Linked DNA regions of Homo sapiens: regions 2 and 3 are each linked to region 1. Evidence: promoter capture Hi-C in human tissues and cell types (Jung and others, 2019). All regions are on one chromosome and are shown on one strand. The core of a region is centred on a gene start or on the middle of the fragment in contact, and the rest is flanking DNA. Distances in the headings are between cores, read along the strand shown.

The links. The method cuts DNA at HindIII sites, captures the fragments that hold promoters and counts their contacts. A contact is called where the count stands out against the background at its distance.
Region 2: a contact is called between a fragment that was not itself captured here and the fragment with the promoter of MROH2A in region 1, in 1 of the 25 tissues and cell types used here (pancreas).
Region 3: a contact is called between a fragment that was not itself captured here and the fragment with the promoter of MROH2A in region 1, in 2 of the 25 tissues and cell types used here (mesendoderm cells and thymus).

Annotation. Positions count from the first base shown.
Region 1 is chr2:233,777,071-233,779,598 of GRCh38, forward strand. MROH2A (maestro heat like repeat family member 2A) reads left to right here and starts at 1,260. Exons shown (of 42, transcript NM_001394639.1): 1 at 1,260-1,411; 2 at 2,275-2,382. The coding sequence starts at 2,289. The HindIII fragment of the contact is 23,317 bases long and covers 1-2,528 here.
Region 2 is chr2:233,839,132-233,841,659 of GRCh38, forward strand. HJURP (Holliday junction recognition protein) reads right to left here. Exons shown (of 9, transcript NM_018410.5): 8 at 1,478-2,528. Among named protein-coding and RNA genes, the nearest start is that of HJURP, 14 kb to the right of the region's middle. The HindIII fragment of the contact is 5,245 bases long and covers 1-2,528 here.
Region 3 is chr2:233,737,680-233,740,207 of GRCh38, forward strand. All of the region lies in intron 1 of UGT1A8 (UDP glucuronosyltransferase family 1 member A8), which reads left to right. All of the region lies in intron 1 of UGT1A10 (UDP glucuronosyltransferase family 1 member A10), which reads left to right. The region is part of intron 1 of UGT1A9 (UDP glucuronosyltransferase family 1 member A9); the gene reads left to right. All of the region lies in intron 1 of UGT1A7 (UDP glucuronosyltransferase family 1 member A7), which reads left to right. It also overlaps UGT1A6, UGT1A5, UGT1A4, UGT1A3 and UGT1A. Among named protein-coding and RNA genes, the nearest start is that of UGT1A3, 9.9 kb to the left of the region's middle. The HindIII fragment of the contact is 3,282 bases long and covers 1-2,528 here.

The DNA.
Region 1 (2,528 bases), core at 10-2,509:
ACAGAGCACAGATCCACAGACCCACGCAGGTGACTCATACACTTGTGAACTATAATAATCGGTTGTTTTCAGTCATTAAGTTTTGAGGTGGTTTGTTACACAGCAATTGCTGACACATTCACTTCTGGCTCTAAATGTATCACTTTTCATGTGTTGAGTCTGAAGACCTTCAGAGGACAGAGATGTGTTCCACCTACCCTATATCCACTGCAGCATGGAAAGCCATGCTTAGCTGCACACAGTAGGCGTGCAGTCTGGGCCTGTGGAATGGACTTGGCAACCACATCACCTCAGTGATCTTTCAAACGGAAAAGAAGGCTCAGTGGGGAGTGGGAGGAGGTAGTGCAGAGGGGCAGTCCTGTGAAAGAAGGGGCATGGGATAGCTGCTTGTGTCTATTTCATGTTGATCAATGTATCTCCAAGTGCAGAACAAGGAATAACGCAGGAATTTTATGAGGAAGAAATGTTGGGCATGATAAGAAAGCTCATTTTCTAACCATCTGAATTCCATGAAGTAGAAAGAGGCTGGTCCTGAGAGTAATGAGCTCCCTCGTATTGGAGGTGTCCAAGCACAGGCTGAGGAACTCCCATTTGGCTGGATGGGCAAACTTGGAGTGGAAATTCCACTTAAGCAACCTTGGCCCTAGATGTCTCTGAGTTTTGTTCCTGTTGTCTTGCAGTGCATAGAAAGATTTCCCAAAGGCCAATATTTCATTGTTGTACCTATGATCTGGATCATCTCTCCTAGCTATAAATGACAGGGAAATCCTTTGGGCTCCACTTTTGGTTTAGGAAATCAGGGTGCCTCCTCTCCTACCTGTCTTTGATGTTCTTTATCTTGTAAGTATTGTGCTAGTGGAAATCCAATTTCTTATCCTGCAAGTCATCCAGTCCCCGGGAAGGAGGAGTGCTCTCCCCAGGGCCTCTCAGTCTGCCCCTCCTCTCCTCTCCAACTGTCCTGACCACACCTCCCCACCCAGGGCTCACATGACTGTGTTCCCCTGGGACTTGGTTGTAAGCCATCCCCACTTCTACCATCTCCCTTTCCCAAACAGGCCCCTGTACTTCAGCACACACATGTGAATAACAGAAATGTTGAATGACAACATGATGTGGAGTTTTCACCCCAGAGCCCTGTGCACTCTTCAAAGACCTGGGTTGATAGAGACTCAGGGAGGCAGTTGGATCTCAAAGTTCCGAGGGTCTGGGATCTAACGGTGATAGTTCTAGTGAAACCCTCCCACCCTTCCAGGAGACCCATTCCTATAAGAAATATGACTGAAGAGCCCAGCTGTCTCACTTTGATAACCAATTCTTCCATTTGCATTTCCATTGATGTGTATTGGGCCAAGAGCAGAGCTTTTTCTTGTGGTTAATATCTGTTTAATCCAGAAGAAGACCCTAAGGAAAGGTCAGTATTTAGGTCCCAGAGTAGCTCTTTAAAATCCTTTAAAGGAAAAGAGAGTATGGGATAGTAAAGGGCCATGGGATGGATCTTTGAGGATCAAGGAACTTGGGACAGGAGGAGAAAGGATCTGAGAGCCTTTCTTCCACCATCTCGACATCTATGTTGGTGTTTCTCAATTTTTAAGAAGCTGTGGATGTTGAGAGAACCCCTTAAAGGAGTTATGAGAGATACTGATATGAATTTCTCATTAGCCATTAATTATCAGTGTGTAGAAGAGAGGGCGAGAGGGCTCTATTAAACTAAGGATATTATCTATTGCTGTGTAACAAATTATCATAAACTCAGTGGCTTAAAAGAACATCCATTGATTATCTCACGGTTCCACTGGCCAGGAGTCTAGGCATGGCTTTCCTTGGTCCTTTGTTTAGGGTCTCAGAGACTGCAGTCCTTTCTGGAGTTCAGCTTCCTCTTCCAAGCTCATGTGCTTATTGGAGAATTCAGTTTCTTATGGTTGTAGGACTGAGGCCCTCAGTTCCTTGCTACGTGGCCCTCACCACAGGCAGTTTGCATCATGGCTGTTTACTTTTCAAGGCCAGTAGAATGTTTCTGTTCAATCTGATAAGAGGGAATCTCATGTGGCATAGTGTGATCATGGGAATGACATCCCACCATCTTTGCCATATGATGTAATCCACTCGAGAGAGGGTCACCCATCACCTTTGCCATATTCTGTTGATTAGAAGGAAGTCACAGGTTCCACCCACACACCCTCAAGGGGATGGCTTTATGGAAGGGTGTGGGTCGTTGGGGTCATCTTAAGGTGTGTGTCACACCCCGTATTTTACAAATTCTGTTGATCTCAAAAGAGCTTGAGGAAGAGATGACTGAAGCCATTACAGAAGCAGCAGTAGCCTCAAGTGAGGAGGTGTCAGAGGAAAGAGACGACCTGGGGCCTCTTGAATTACATGACAGTGGTAAGAATGTCATCCACATTTCTGCTTTCCTGCCCCATCTCAGACACTAACTCTTTGACTGCAGCCCCAGCCTAGGTCTCCCTTTCTCCATCTGCACAGTGGACATCATACCACACATGAAGCTGGAGCTGCGCAGGTGGAGGCAA
Region 2 (2,528 bases), core at 20-2,519, 62 kb after region 1:
ACAGTATGACTTTATACACGAAAATAACTTTGAAAACCAAAACATCCAACAAAACCTGGGAGCTTCTAGAACTGAGCCAAGGAGCCTGAGCCGCTAACCCATGAGACTGGTCTGTGTCCAGACAGCTCCCCACTGCAGCACCCACCATGTGCAGCCCCTGGGAGGGTGGGGGTTACCTGCACGGAGCAGGCAGCTGAGCGGTGGGTGGAGTCTAGGGAGGATGTCCGAGGATGCAATAGCAAAGAACTGGGGAGTAGGGGGAGAATGCCAGTGAAAGTTCCCTGGAAGGGAAGGGCTGTCCTACGGCAGACCCTGGAGCAGGTGGCCCTGAGCAGTCCAAGGGCATTGGGAAGACAGAGTGACAGTGAGAAAGGCCCCAGGGGGCTCAAGCCACAGGAGGCCGCTGGCGGTCTGAGAGTGTGGTCTCTGCCATGCACAGGCGGGACTGCAGGCTTCGAAGGCAGGCACCACAGAAGGAACAAGGCATACCAGACCTTGGTTCTGAGCTGGACGCACGGCAGGAGCCAGTGGCTGAGAAGGGCTCGCAGGCCAGGCGGGTCCAGGTGGGAGAAACAGAAAATGGGACACTTATGGCAGGCAGGGTCCACCCAAATGACCTCAGAGAAGAGGCACATCGCCAGGCTAGGGCACAAGGGAAGAGGATACTGGAGACACGGCCTCACCTGCTGGAACCACAAACACACAAAACCCAAAGGAACCGGCCAAATCAAACCCACAGTCAAGTCCCGTCCACCTGTGGGTTAAGAAAGTCGCATCCTCCAGATCCTGACTGTGGACACACAGAGAAGCTGTGCTGGGGAATCCAACCTTTAATGCCAACAAAGGTACTCACTCCCACTGACCCACCCCACCCCACTGTCTCTAGAGAAAAGGGCACACGCAGACTAAAACTCTAGCTGACATGATTCGCACAAATTAAGCTGCAGAACAAGGTGCAGAAGTTTTAACACTGAGCACTGAGATATCTGCAGGGCACCCCTCGCACCTGTGAGAATACTGTGCTCGTGGCTCTCCCAGGCCACTCTTGCTCTTTCCCTACCAGGAATCCAGAAATAGGAAGTCATTCGCTTTAGATCACTTTCGCCTTACAACAGCTATTTTCTGAGTGTCAGATGAAGAGGTTAGAAATGAAGGTTTGACAAAGACGAATAAAGCGTAGTAAGTGAGGATTTGCAGGAAAAAAGCCTCTGAATGCATTCTAATGGAAAGTGTGAAACTTCTGCAAGAGCACTTTCTGCTTTACCTCGATGCATCTTACACAGGGACACATTCTTGATAGAGACGCTGACTTTACAGGAAGGAAAAGCATTTGGGAGAAAGCTCAGAAAATGATCACGTATGTAAGAATTCGGCTGAGATTCACTAAACGTGGCGCAAAGATTCCTACCATAAAAAGCCTCTGTCCAAAGAGCAGTCACTCACATAAACCACATTCAACCAACAGAAACACACCTACCTCTCTTCTGAGTTGGGCTGTGAAGAGCTGCCCTGGTCTCCCGGTCTGACGGTGTTGTCCACCCCATCTGAGGCACCCAGGGAATTGCCCTGGCGTCCGGAGCCCTGGGGTTCTGATAGCCTGGGTCTTTTTGCAGGGAACTGATGGTCCCTCGTGCCATCCCTCGTGATGGCACGAGCAACACATGTAGATGAAGGAGCCTCAATTGCAGTTGAGCCCAGTAGACTTTTTCTGCACCCCAGGGGTGATGATGGCAACTTCTGGAAACCCTGGAAGTGAGGGTCTGGATTTAATTTTCCTAAGAAGCCTTCTGTTTGATATCGAACTTCCATACTTGCTTTATCTGTAGACACTCCAATACATAAAGGCACTGTCATCTGCCCAGGAGATTTGAGGCAATACTTTTGATGAAGCTTGTCAAATTCTTCTTTAATTTCATCGTAACGATTCCTTCCGTGGCCTGGCACTTCTTTATCTGGGACTGAAAGAGTTTTGCTGGGTGACACTGACTTTCTAAATATTCCAGAACTATTTCCCTGAACGTGAAGGTCAGATGTCTGCTGCGGGCGAGTTGCGCTGTGTGTGGGGTTGGTCTTTGGAAGTGATGAAGATGAATCGCTCTTGGGCAGGCACCTACCTGCTTCCAGAGATCTTTTGCCTAGGTTTTCAAAAGCCTCACTTAAACTTTTTGCTTTTGCTTTGCTGGAAGGTAAACTCAGCCTGCGGGTTTCTAAGCCCTGAAGGCCACCAGGACTCGCAGGACCCCCTCTGTACATGTTCATGGCCCAGGAGTCCGGGAGGCACATCCGGCGAGGCTGGTTCCTGGGACTCAGGCAATATTCCCGATGAAGCTGATCAAATCGGATTTCAATCTCCCTCTGACGGTTCTCTCCATGGCCCTGTCGTATTGTTGGTCTGGAAACTATTTTTACAGGAGAAATTAACCATTTTAATGTCCTAAATCTATTTTCCTCATCAAGATTATATGTTGCACTGGAGTCGAAGTAAATCAAGGAAGAATACTTCGAGGGTGTCACTTTGCGCTCCTTCC
Region 3 (2,528 bases), core at 15-2,514, 39 kb before region 1:
GCCATTGGTGCTGAAGCTTCCGTTCTCCTCTCCAACACCTCCTTTTTTTTTCCTTTTCTCTTCCAGTTTTTCAATGTGAACATATTCTCTAGAGTTAACTACATTGGCTCAAATCTTCACTATCATCTCAGTGGAGCAGAACAAATTGGGAACTGTGGCACAGGTCACTCTTGCTATGCCCCTTAAGAATTCCACATTAACAAAGCTAATTTTCGAGTGTGGTAAAGAACAGGCTAGTGTATTTAGTAGTGAGTCCATTGACTGTTTCCCAACATGAGGTCACACTAGATTTAATATGGTTTGGCTCTGTGTCCCCCACCAAATCTCATCTTGAATTGTAATCCCCATAATCCCCACGTGTTGAGGACAGGACATGGTGGGAGGTCCCCACCTCCTAATCTCATCATAGTGAGTGAGTTCTTATGAGATCTGATGGTTTTATAAGGGGCCCTTATCCCTTCACTTGCAAGCTATTCCTCTTTCTCTCTTTCATGTAAGACGTGTCTTTGCCTCTCTCTCACTTTCTGCCAGGATTATAAGTTTCCTGAGGCCCCTCCAGCCACATGGAACTGGAGTCAATTAAAGCTCTTTCCTTTATAAATTACCCAGTCTTGGGTATGTCTTTATAGCAGTGTGTGAATGGACTAATACAGTAAATTGGTGTCATGGAGAGTGGGGTACTGCTATAAAACTACTTGAAAATGTGGAAGTGACTTGGAACTGGGTAACAGGCAGAGGCTGGAACAGTTTGGAGAGCTCAGAAGACAGGAAGATGTGGGAAAGTTTGGAACTTCCTGGAGACTTGTTGAACGGTTTTGACCAAAATGCTGATAATGTTGTGGACAATGAAGTCCAGGCTGAGTCTCAGATAGAGATGAGGAATCTGTTGAGAACTGGAGCAAAGGTCACTCTTGCTAAGCTTTAGCAAAGAAACTCGTGGCATTTTTGCCCCTGCCCTAGAGCTCTTTGGAACTACGAACTTGAGAGAGATGATCTGAAATTGGAACTTATGTTTAAAAGGGAAGCAGAGCATAAAAGTTTGGAAAATTTGCAGCCTGACCATGTGGTAGAAAAGAAAAACCCATTTTATGGGGAGAAATTCAAGCCAGATGCAGAAATACTAGCTAAAGAAATTTGAATAAATAAGGAGGAACCAAATGTTAATCACCAAGACAATGGGGAAAATGGCTCCAGGGCATGTCAGAGACCTTTGCAGCAGACCCTCCCATCACAGGCCTGGAGGCCTAGGAAGGAAAAATGGTGTTTTAGGCTGGGTCCAGGCCCCCACTGCTGTGTGCAGCCTCAGGACTTGGTGCCCTGTGTCCCAGTGGCTCCAGCCATGGCTAAAAGGGGCCAAGGTAGAGCTCAGGCCATTGCTTCAGAGGGTGCAAACCTCAAGCCTTGGCAGCATCGATGTGGTGTTGGGCCTGCGGGTACACAGAAGATAAGAATTTAGGTTTGGGAACCTCCACATAAATTTTAGAGGATGTAAGGAAATGCTTGGATGTCCAGGCAGACGTTTGCTGCATGGATAGAGTCCTTATAGAGAACCTCTGCTAGAGAAGGGTGGTAAAGAAATGTGAGGTTGGAGCCCCCACACAGAGTCTCCACTGGGGCACTGCCTAGTGGAGTTGTGAGAAGAAGGCCACAGTCCTTCAGAACCCAGAAGGGCAGATCCAATAGCTTGCACTGTGTGCCTGGAAGAGCCACAGACATCAATGCCACCCTCTGAAAGCAGCCAGGACGAGGGCTTTACCCTGCAAAGCCACAGGGTTGGAGCTGCCTGAGACCGTGGGAGCCCATTTCTGGCATCACCTTGATCTAGATGTGAGACATGAAGTCAAGGGAGATTATTTTGGAGCTTTAAGATTTAATGACTGCCCTGCCTGGTTTTGGACTTGCATGGGGCCTATAGCCCCTTTGTTTTGGCCAGTTTCTCCCATTTGAAATGGGAACATTTACCCAATTTCTGTACCCCCATTGTGTCTTGGAAGTTACTAACTTGTTTTTGATTTTACAGGCTCATGGGGGAAGGGACTTGACTTGTCTCAGATGAGACCTTGGACTATGGACTTTTGAGCTAGTGCTGAAATGAGTTAAGACTTTGGAGGACAGTTGGGAAGGCATGATTGGTTTTTAAATGTGAAAAGACATGAGATTTGGGATGGGCCAGAGGGCAGAATGATATGATTTGACTGTGTGTTTCCACCCAAATCTCATCTCATATTGTAATTTCCATAATCCCCATGTGTTAAGGTTGGTACCTGGTGGGAGCTGATTGAATCATATCGGCAGTTTTCCCCATGCTGTTCTTGTCATACTAAGTGAGTTCTCATGAGAGCTGATGGTTTTATAAGGGACTCTTTCTCCTTTACTCACAAGCTTTTCCTCTCTGTCTCTCGCCTGCTGCCATGTGAGACATGCCTTTGCTTATCTCTCACCTTCTGTCATGATTGTAAGTTTCCTGAGGCCTCCCCAGTCATGTGGAACTGTGAGTCAATTAAACCTCTTTCTTTTATAAATTACCC